Regions from separate parts of the Homo sapiens genome. Here region 2 is linked to region 1. The links are contacts of gene promoters, found by promoter capture Hi-C in blood cells and fetal thymus (Javierre and others, 2016). All regions are on one chromosome and are shown on one strand. The core of a region is centred on a gene start or on the middle of the fragment in contact, and the rest is flanking DNA. Distances in the headings are between cores, read along the strand shown. Region 1 holds the start of PALS1 (protein associated with LIN7 1, MAGUK p55 family member). Region 2 holds the start of FUT8 (fucosyltransferase 8).

The links. Contacts are between HindIII fragments. The CHiCAGO score rates a contact against its expected background, and 5 or more counts as called.
Region 2: a contact is called between a fragment that was not itself captured here and the fragment with the promoter of PALS1 in region 1, in 2 of 17 cell types (naive CD4 T cells and M0 macrophages). The highest score is 7.0, in naive CD4 T cells.

Annotation. Positions count from the first base shown.
Region 1 is chr14:67,239,204-67,244,750 of GRCh38, reverse strand. PALS1 (protein associated with LIN7 1, MAGUK p55 family member) reads right to left here and starts at 3,316. Exons shown (of 15, transcript NM_022474.4): 1 at 3,218-3,316. LOC124903330 (a long non-coding RNA gene) reads left to right here and starts at 3,342. Exons shown (of 2, transcript XR_007064217.1): 1 at 3,342-5,461. It also overlaps a transcript of GPHN not described here. RefSeq lists a silencer at 2,735-3,704 and an enhancer at 3,685-3,964. The HindIII fragment of the contact is 3,073 bases long and covers 2,149-5,221 here.
Region 2 is chr14:65,411,083-65,416,629 of GRCh38, reverse strand. FUT8 (fucosyltransferase 8) reads right to left here and starts at 3,900. Exons shown (of 11, transcript NM_001371533.1): 1 at 3,416-3,900. It overlaps FUT8-AS1 (FUT8 antisense RNA 1), which reads left to right and starts at 4,013. Exons shown (of 1, transcript NR_024334.1): 1 at 4,013-5,547. RefSeq lists enhancers at 2,595-3,159, 4,402-4,721 and silencers at 3,082-3,271, 3,282-3,401, 3,702-3,861. The HindIII fragment of the contact is 4,909 bases long and covers 1,028-5,547 here.

The sequences.
Region 1 (5,547 bases), core at 2,067-4,566:
TTTAAGATAAAATTAGGCTATACCTACCATATTCCATCTACTTAAGAGAAACAAAAACTTAGGTTTACACAAAAACCTATTTGCAAAGATTTACAGCCACTTTATTCAGTCACAAAAAACCTGAAAACAACTCAAATGTCCTTCAACTGGTGAATGGATAGGTGATGGAACTGTTCTTTACCTTGATTGTGGTAGTTGCACAGCTCTCTGAGTTGGAATTGTACAATGAAAAGTTAACTTCATTTCATGTAAATTAGAGTTAAATATTTTTTAAAGAAAAGAAGCAATTATATCATTTCTCATCCACCAGATTAGCAAAAATTTTAAAATCTTACGATGCCCAGTGTGGGCAAGAATGTGAAGCCACTGTCACTCATACTGTTTGCAGGAATGTAAATGATTACAGCATTAAAAAGGGTAATTTGGCTGTAGCTAGTAATGTTGAAAACACATATCAACCTATTATCAGCAATTCCACTTATAGGTAGGTATACATACATTCTAGGAAAGCGTCCACACATGCGCTCAAGGAGACATACACAAAGATATTCATTAAACATTGTTTGAAATATTAAAAAACTGAAAATTCTTCAGTAGGGGAATGAATTGCAGTTAGTAGTTATTAAAAAAGAAAACGGAAAAAATCCATGACAGAAAGAATCCTGCCAGTTAAGTGATTTGGAAAAGGCAACTTATTGGTTTATCTAACAATGAGACATCCTGAGAAGAGCACTGAATTTAGAATATGGAGACTTAGAATATGGAGAACAGCATTTTAGCATTCATGTAGTTCCAAGTCTGCCCCTAACTAGCAGTCAGACTACGGATTACTTAACTCCTGCAAGCCTCACTTTCTTTTTCATGGAAAATGAAGAGGTTAGACTATATAACCACTAAGATTACTTCCAACTCAACGATCCTATGATTCAGTAAGTATATGATCAAAAATCATAAGGGCTGGGCGCGGTGGCTCACGCCTGTAATCCCAGCACTTTGGGAGGGCGAGGCGGGCGGATCACGAGGTCAGGAGATTGAGATCATCCTGGCTAACACGGTGAAAACCCGTCTCTACTAAAAAAAAAATACAAAAAATTAGCAGGCGTGGTGGCGGGCACCTGTAGTCCCAACTACTCGGGAGGCTGAGGCAGAAAAATGGCGTGAACCCGGGAGGCAGAGCTTGCAGTGAGCCGAGATTGCGCCACTGCACTCCAGCCTGGGCGACAGCGCGAGACTCCGTCTCAAAAAAAAAAAAAAAAAAAAATTATATTCTGGCGGTGGCTCACGCCTGTAATCCCAGCATTTCAGGAGGCCGAGGCGGGTGGATCACCTGAGGTCAGGAGTTCGAGGCCAGCCTGGCCAACATGGTGAAACCCCGTCTCTACTAAAAATACAAAAATTAGCCAGGTGTGGTGGCGAGCACCTGTAGTCCCAGCTAGTCGGGAGGCTGAGAGCAGGAGAATCACTTGAACCAGGGAGGTGGAGACTGCAGTGAGCCAAGATCGCGCCACTACACTCCAGCCTGGGCAAGAGCGAGACTATGTCTCACAAAAAAAAAAAGAAAAGACAATTATATTCTATATAAGCACATATGTCAAGATACTATTTTTTTCTAGACACTCTGAAATCAGAAAATATCAGAGAAATAGGGCATTTCAGTAAATAATATATAAAATTGATCAAATTTCTTGGAATGGGTGATAAATTTTATTTTTTCCATGACACAGCCCTCAGGAGATCCTGAAAACACGTGCCCCTGTGATGAGATTTTTAATCAAAATCATAATTCAAGATCATGTAAAAGCTAAACCCACTGTACTGACTTGGGTCACCCTCAAGTAGAACTTATATATTCTCTCCCGTTTTAACATTCTAAAACAAATTAATGTTAATCAATCCACCTTAATTTGTCAAGTTCAAGTCCGTCTTGCCAAAACTAATTCAGGTACATGGTAAAATTTACCAGATTTTTAAAGATAAAATAATGAATTGCTTTTCCTATTTTTGCCTGTTTTATCTATAAATCTCTTACATTATAATTTAATAGCTCATCCTGCCGCAAATAGAAAGCCTATAAAACCTATCCACAATAGCTATGTCCACAGGGATCTAGTAAAAAAAAAAAATCGTAGTTCTTAATTCAAGGAAGCTTATTTAATAAGTTTCATTACCACCAATACTTCAAAGACACCAATAACCAACACGTCATTTGTTCCTATTGCATAATTTAACAGGTTATTAACTTCTGGTATAATCCAAAAGCATAATTAGTAAACTATCATTAAAACATGATATTGCTTTTTTAAAAAATCAGAAATATTAACACCTTTCACTGCGTCAGTCAAATCAAAATTTCAAAATTTTTGTTCAACTGACTTTCCAAATCTAAATTCTTACTATTCTAAACGAGTATGGAGACAAAACACACACTCCATACTACATCTAAAAACTTCCTAGCCATCAGATTTTAATTTTAGCATAAACTGCCAAGAAAAACCTTTTGACCGAAACCTACATTCCGTACACATTACTGTATGTCAATCAACAGAAGGTGAGTTATGATCATTAGAAAGTTACATAATTTACTACAAAGATCGTTTAAAGCAAACTTCATTAAACGTAGGTTATAACAATTTACATGCTTCAAAGTTCAACGTGCAACCTTAAAGTATCAGAAACCATGAACAAAACTAGGCTTTTCTTTTAAAGTGGTCACAAGGAAGCAGGAACTGTTTGCGTGTTTAAGAACGCAATGAGCAGCAGAATACCAGCAGCTGAGTCAGGCAGAGGAACGCTGACTACATTCTGACTTCTAAAGGAAAGCGTTCCCTCGCCGATTTCCCAGACCCGGCCGGGAGAGTCCCGCGCGTCGCGACCTCGGAGAGAGGGCGCAGGGGGCAGACGACTCCCCGCCGCGCCCCCTGCACCTCGGGCTCGGCTGGCTGTGGCCCGCGCCAAGGTGCATGCCCAGCCAAGCAGAAGGAGCGGGCACCGCGCAGGCAGCGTTGCTCCGAGGGACAAAGGTTGGGCTCACACCCTCCACGGCCGCAGCTCGCGCGCCTGAGGAAGCCCGCCTGGCTGCCAGGGGTCTCCCGCTGGCCGGAGTTTGCGCAGCGTGTGGGGGAAGGGGAGCCCGGCCGCCCGCCCCTCCCCCGCCGCGCTCCCAGGGACCTGTTGATTAAGATCTCTACAGCCCAGCCGCCGCCGATCCGCCTCTTACCTCCACGCCTCGGCTCCGCGGAGCCTCCCGCCCCGGCCGCTCCTACGCACTGCAGAAGCGACAGCCCTCCGGCGGCCCTTGAAATTCCGGATAAAGAATCCAGAAACTCCCGACTCCCCACCTCAGAATCCTTAGTCCCCGCCCCCGCCCCACCGCCTGCCTCCTCCGTCGCCGCCGTCACCGCCGCAGCCGCCAGCAACTCCACTTCTAGACCGCGCGAGACCGGCCCCTGCGGCCGCCGCGAGACCGCGCACGCGCCCCCGGGACTCTGGCGCAGTGGGCGCGCGGATCCGAGTCCCACCCCGCCCGTGAGAGGCTGGCGCGGCTTGCCCAATCCCGAGCCGGAGCGGAGAGAGCGCCCGCTCATTGGTCCTCTCCGCAGCTCCAGCCGGGTGCGCGCAGTCGCGCGCCTCTAAGTCTAAAACGCGGACTGCTCCGGGCTAGCTGGCCCGGTAGAGCCCCTTCGGGATTTGGCCGGCGGGCTTTGTGGGGACGCGAGGCTTCCCTGGGTTTCTACATCCCTTGGCTCTTGTCTCTGGATGACGTATCCTGAAGAAAATCTGATTCCTCTTGAAGAGATTCCTCATGTCCTGTCAAGTTAGTCACCCAATCTAACATTTGTTTTTTTTAAAAAATGACATAAACACCTGGATGTGTGCAGTGTCCCGCAGAAGACTGCATAAAGCCAGCAGCTGCACTGATTTCTGAAAACCAGAAAGCAAGGATAGCAAGGACTAGAACTATTTCCCAGAAGTCTCCCGAAGGGACAGAGTTACGCAGATCAGCCCGTGCTCCGGGCATGGCTGGCGCCCTCGGGACCTGGATGTGCCACCCTTGGAATGGGGCAGGACTCAGGCGGGTGCGGGCGGAAGTCAGAGCAGATTGGAGGACGTTCTAAGGAGAAACACCAGCAATGTGTCTCGACACTTGCAATAAAAGCCCTCGGATGGTCTCTGTCTTGACAGTACCTTCCGAGCAAGCCCATTCCACATTTGAACACTTGCAAGGTTTGTTAATCGACCTCTCCTTCTATGAGGCCAAACTATGCCTGTGACTCCAGCCCGGGGGCACAGTTTCCCCCAGGGGCACAGTCCTCCCTCAAAGCCTTCGTATATGCCATTTCCATTTCTCTCGGTTTTCCTCATTTTGTCCCACGGTGTTTTTCCATCTCGCAATGTCCTCAGGTCCTGATTTTCAAGCTCTTTCACATTCTTCCCCATTACGCTCCTCTGGACAGCCTATGGGTTGTGGTGTCCCTCACTAAGGACACTGTGATGGCCTGAACGAAGCAAACCGTTGTTCCTGGTGGTGAAGATCTTTGGGGATGCCTACCCTTCCCAGATTTGTTATCCTTCTCAAATCTGATCAGCATTCTGTCCAAGTGTTTAATAAGACAGAGCGGAGGACAGAACTCTGCTGCATGCCACTAAAGACCTTAATGCTCCTGCCATCAAAAATTTCTCAGTAGGCTTCGAATACAGGTGGACGACACAACCGAACTGTCTTCTTGGCCCATATTCCTCCATAAAGATGCCATGAGAACTGGTGAAATGCCTAACTGAAATCCAGATAAAGTCTCCAGGATTCCTAGAAACTACTAGCCATACCCCAAAAGAAAAAACGGTTACTGTGTGTGACTTACTTCCTTTTCTAAGTTCTTTTGTTTTTGTTTTTGTTTGAGACGGAGTTTCGCTCTTTTGCCCAGGCTGGAGTAAAGTGGCGCAATCTCGGCTCACTGCAACCTCCGCTCCCCGGGTTCAAGCGATACTCCTCCCTCAGCCTCCCCAGTATCTGGGATTACAGGTGCCAGCCACCACGCCCGGCTAATTTTTGTATTGTTAGTAGAGACGGGGTTTCGCCACATTGGCCAAGCTGGTCTTGAACACCTGACCTCAGGTGATCCACCTTTCTCAGCCTTCCAAAGTGCTAGGATTACAGGCGTGAGCAACCGTGCCCCGCCTCTAAGTTCTTAAATATATAACATAAATAATAATTCAAGAAGCTTCCTCCAGCTCGTCAATGAATTCTTCTTTCTCTAGCTTATAATTTCTCATCCTTGGCACTATTGACATTTGGGCTGGATAATTCTTGTGGGGACTGTCCTGTGCATCATAGGATGTTTAGAAGCATCCCCAGCCTCTACCCACTACGTGCCAGTAGCATCACCCTCCCCAATGTGACAATCAAAAATGTCTCCAGACATCACCAAAGGTCATGGGGAGGAATGAGCAAAATCATCTTCAGGTAAGGACTGCAGATCTAGCTGTTCAAAGAAAGGACCTCTTTGGAAAGATAGTATATCTTTATCCGTAACTTCCAATCTCTTGGCC
Region 2 (5,547 bases), core at 2,233-4,732, 1.8 Mb after region 1:
CAATGTAAAAACAATTCAAACTCCAAGAAAGAAACTCCATACTATACGGTAGTGAAATATGAGCCAGAGAATCAATAAGAGGATGCTACACTACTGTTGAAGACCAGAAGTTGATATCTCCTTTGAAAAGTATCAACAGAAGCAGCATTGATGCAGGGTACAAAAGTACTATAATAAAGCTGGCTGTGGTAGCACATGCCTATAGTCCCAGCTACTCAAGAGACTGAGGTAGGAGGATTGCTTGAGCCCAGGAGTTCAAGGCCAACCTGGACAAAACAGCAAGATCACATCTCTTTGGGGGAAAAAAAAAAAAAGGTACCATAATAGTAATACTTTTAGTTTCAGAGTTGTTTAAAAATCTTAATTTTATGTTTAGTAAAGTAACTTATTCAAGTTTTTTTAAATATTTACTCTTATGATTGTAAAACTTTCTTTTATATTTATCAATTTGCTATAATATGAAATGATGTATCCACCATTTAACTAAATCAAGAGATTTATTAAATGCAGTTTATCATAAATCAAAAATAACCATTAATGAAATGGAAGAATCTATTTACTTTATCAGCATTGAGATTCTATTTACATAATGAAGAGCTATGGATAATAAACAGCCCAAACACTATCTGCAAAAAAACCAATATTCCAATGATTTTAATATACATATAACTATCAGTTTCTAGGCTTGGATTTAAAGAATATGTGAATGGAAAGAAGTAAATTAACATACTAATTTATTACAGCTTAGAAACCTAAATGAAATGCCACAGGCCACAAAACAACTGCTTCGTATTCAAAGGCACACATTCAATTTGGTAGATCAGCTGGACGCACTGCATTATACTGCAGGAGATAAGGGTTAAGTGACCTGGGGATATTGTTCTCCAGATGTCTAAAAGGTCCATTTTTTTATTGGAATTATCTCTACTTTAAAAAAAAAAAAAAAAGGAATTATATCTACTTTTGATAAATACCTAGCTTACCACACAATTAATACCTTCGCCCATATAAGATTCTACTTGAAGCTTCGTTTTTGAAATTTTAGGATTGTAGCTATTATAAAAACAAAATTTAAGAACACACAACATGTACAATGGGTCAAGAATACATGCCTTAGATTCTGATGAACAGGACAAGAAGGTTAAGAAAATACTATAACATACTCTAAGTTTGGGGGTACATTTTAGAGATTTTTAAGTGAGAAATCCAATAAATCTTTAAGCATTTAGCTTTCCATTATTGCAGCGCATGAAAAGACTTTTTTAAACTAATTTGTAATACACAATATATTCACTCCACAAATAACTATGTACATATATATGCCCACATCAATTTCCTACTCTTTTAATTAAAAATTTATGTTTCTTTTGGTCATAAAAATCTGGTTTTGGGTGTTTTAAAAGTTCAAACAGCTATTAAGCTATACTTTGCTTTGGCACTAGCTCCCCCTCCAGACCAATGTACTAATATAACAGCATTTTTAAAAATAATAAGTTAACAGTTTTTTCCAATCCACTGGCAAATTTTAAGATTCACCACTTTTAAGGACACTCCAATTGCGTAAAAATAACTGGTAAGAATTTGCAACAAAACAATGCAGGATGTAATCAGAATTAGTTTTGTTTTGTTTTTTTCGATTCCATACATCTTAAACAGAACTGATTTGTAGGAAAACAACTTCAGGTGACTTTTTAAATTCAAAAATATCCTCAAAATATAACCTATATAAGGCCGTACTTTATGGAAATTATTTTGAATCACTATCCTATTACACAAGACACTCTTCAAGTTAACTCACAACTTGACCAAAGATACATTTTTGCATCTGTTTCTGCAATCTATGCAAGTTTCATTCCAGCTGTTCAGCTCTTGAATTCAAATAGAATTCTCAATTTATAAGGCAGCAAAAAGAAAATCCATGTCTTGGAACTACCTTTGTACGTGTCTTATAGCCTATTCATCTCTAACTCCCTGCATTTTTTACACACTAAACCTGTGAAATCACAATTACAAATGCTTGAATTCCCACCTTTTCAATACTACTGTAGTATTTACAAATCAAGTAATTAAGATTTTCTATACACATACCAGATTTCACAAGGACAGCAAGGTACAGGGCCTTATTATTTGGCATAGGGTTTTAAGATGTTTTTACAGTTATTTTAAAGAGCAGAGACTACAACTCCATTATTTCTCATATATCTGATATACTGTAGTGCTTAAATAATAATTTCTCTCCTAAAATACTTTCTATATGATGCACCTATTTAAAGAATTAGTCATAAAACATAGAATGTAAATTTAATCAAGAAAATAAACATGCACCTAACCGCCGGAATAACAAGAAAAAAAAAATCTATAATGAAACCTGCCTACAGTTTTCATAGAGGCAAGCCAGTTAAGTCAGTTACTTGAGATGCGTTTAACTCTAAACTGACACAAAACTTGTGTTGAATTTGTTCCGCAAAACCTTGAAATTTGGGGTTATGTACTACAGAATTTGGCTTTTCTGGGTCCACCTTCCTGAGTGGGTTTAAATAAACTGTGAATAATTAAAACATAGGAAGGAAAAAAACACCACCTGTCCGTGCCTTTAACCAAGGCCTCAATCTATATATTATATGGCAAAATGCTAAAATAAAAGCTCATCCGGGACAAACCCTAAGCATGACACTGCCACTTAAGAAATACACTGCGTCTCTGAAGATTGCAATCCCCACTGTGAAGAAAGAACAGGTGCTGCACCCGACAACCCACTCAATCCTGCAGGACAAACCTCCTAGAACTGATAAATATGGACTCATTTAACCTTCCCAAATAAGTTGATACTCAAAAGCCGCCAGCTCGTCATTTGCACATCAAAAGGGAGTACAGCTGCACTCAAGCCTTTAACTGCCCTGCATCAGTCCCTCGCGGATCTTTGTGAGGGTCCACTCCCTGCTTTCTAGCCCGAGCAGCACTCAGAAAGAGCCCATAACGCACGGGCATCTTCCTCCCCACAAACCGCGACTCCAGGGACCGAGCTGCTGACGAAGGGAAGGTAGGTGTGGAGGGGAAACGACGGACACCTCCCACCCCCGCCCCCAACCCTTCTCCTTCCCTAGGCTTTGGCCCCTGCCCTAGGCAAGGATGCGCGACGCCGAGGGCAGCAGCGGCGCAGCTCCGCGTCCCGGCTGGAGAGGCGGGCGCCCCTCACCCTCTGCCCGCGCCCCCGGGGCTGCGCCAAGGCATCCGCCAGAGCGTCCCGGGGGCTCCCTCCCCACTTTTCCGAGAGCCGCTGGTTAACCGGCAGCAGTTGCAGCAACAGGCCCGGGTGAACGAGCAGGGACAGCCGCGGAGCCTCCTCAGATCCCGCGCGCAGCCCAGCCCAAGACCCCGAGGCGCGCGGGGCCCGGCTCCCAAAACGCCCCCTTACCCCAGGCGGGAGCAGAGGCGGTCTCCGCCGCTCCCCGTCGCAGCTGCCAAAGCCACAGCCCTCAGCCGCAGCTGCCCCACGATGGGGGAGTGGGAAGGGTGGCTGAGTGGAGGATGCTACTCCCGACCGAACGGAGAGGAAGAAACGGAAACAGGAACCGCCGCCGCCGCTTAACGGAGCCTTCGGCGCCACTGACTGAGGCAGAGCGCGAGGCGGCGCGAGCCGGGCAGTCGCTGACAGCGCGAGACCGAGAGCGAGCTGGGTCCAGGGCGCGCGACCCTGAGCAGTGCCGGCCCCATTCCGCGGGGAGACGAAGGGACGGGTCGGCTGGGGCCAGGCGGCGGGGGTGGGATGGGGAGGGGGCCTGGAGAGGAGGGAACCGGCTGCTCGGGTCGGCCGGAGATAACGCGCGCACGCGCCGGAGCGGCTCTGACAACGAGCGCAGGCGGGGAAGCCTCGGCCAGCGCCGGCGTGCGCGCGCGAATGGGGGAGCGCGCCCCTCGGCGTTCCTGGCTTCTGGGAGAGGGCGCGCATGCGCCGGCCGCTGCCACCTACGGCGACCCTGGCATGTGCCAGGGATTCTCCCCGCCCCCTTCCTCGCTGCGCCGGTGGAGAGCGTAGCAGCAGCATCCACCGCCTAGCAGAGCCGCGGGCCACAGCGGGACGGCACAGTTCCAGCAGGGCAGCGGCTGCGCACGCCGGCTCCGGCTCGCACACAGGCGTAGGCCGCCCTCTACCGCCTGAAGGCCGGAGGCTGAGCGGGGCGCGAGCGGATCCTGGATCCCGGGAGGAGACTCGCCTCCAGAGAATGCTGTGCTCCCTACAGCGCCGGGAATGGACCGGCCCGTGCCAGCTCAGTCGGCGGCCCTAGGGGGCACCCGCACTAGAGGTTTTGAAGCTGGCTCCTTGCTACTTTTAGGGGTGCGCGCTGCTGCTGCTCAGCCCCTGCAGCCCGCATTTGGCCGCTTGACTGCTGCTTCCAGCGCGATCCTACAATGGCATCGCTCCCCCAGGAGACTCAGCGAAGCCCTACTTTATCTTGTAAGAGCTGTTTCCACATTCACTCGAAGAGAAAGACCCCCCCCACGAGGGCCTGAGTTCGATGCCCGGCCTCTCCCGACCCGCGGCTGCGACAGCCCCTCTGAGGCGGAAGTTTATTTAGTACGGGAAAGAGAACAGCACGGGGAGAGGGGAGAGGCTTTGCCCTAGGATGCGTCCTACCCGCTCGGACTCGGAAAATTCCCGGCGCCCGCGATGCAGAGCAGTGGACCGAAGGGCTGCCCCAGAGCAGCCCAGACCGCCAGCTGAGCGGGAGGACCGGAGCGCGCCGCCCCAGCACACAAAGTAGTCGCGGGACGAGGGGTGCCGCCGAGGCCAATCAGAGCTGCGCGCCGCGTGAGTGGAGTGCGAGCCGGCCAATCAGAGGGCCGGAAGATGAGCTTCCCGTTCCAAACTCTTCCCTGTAGCCTTGGGACCCAGATCCCAAGCCTGGGGCGCTTTACGGTGGGAGAGCGAAATGGTGCCCTTAAGACAAGAATCATTTCTCTAGGCTTGGGCATTTTAAAGTACATACCGGGGATACTTATCCCAAAGCAAGTAGCGGCGGCCTTTTAGATGTTAAATATTAAAAGATCACAGAAAGGAGATTTAAGAGGCAGTGGCCTGTCAAGGTTGCAATCTGCCTAATATTCATAAATTCACATATTTATTGAGACCTTCTTATGTACCAGGAACTCTATCACAGATACACAAATAAGGTACTGCTGATTCAAAAGAAAATCCCTTGTCCTCAAGCAGCTCAGGTTGTGAGGGAGGCTTTCCTAGACCTTGAGACTCGTATTTATTGTCAGCTCTTTAAACAAAAAGCACTCTATGAAGTGCTGTACTTTACAGTCGTTTTTATGATTATCTCCCTGTGAGAAAAGAAAATTGAAAGGAAAGTAGAGTGACTTGTCCAAGATCACACAGAAGATGTACTAGCAGAGCCAGAATTATGTTCTAGCTCAGTTTGGGTGTCATCATTCAATAAAATAATTCAATAACAATTTGTAAATGCATGGATGCTCTCTCCCATGAGATTTCTGTACTAAACGTATAAGCAGGACAAAATTCTGGTATAAAAGTGACACACT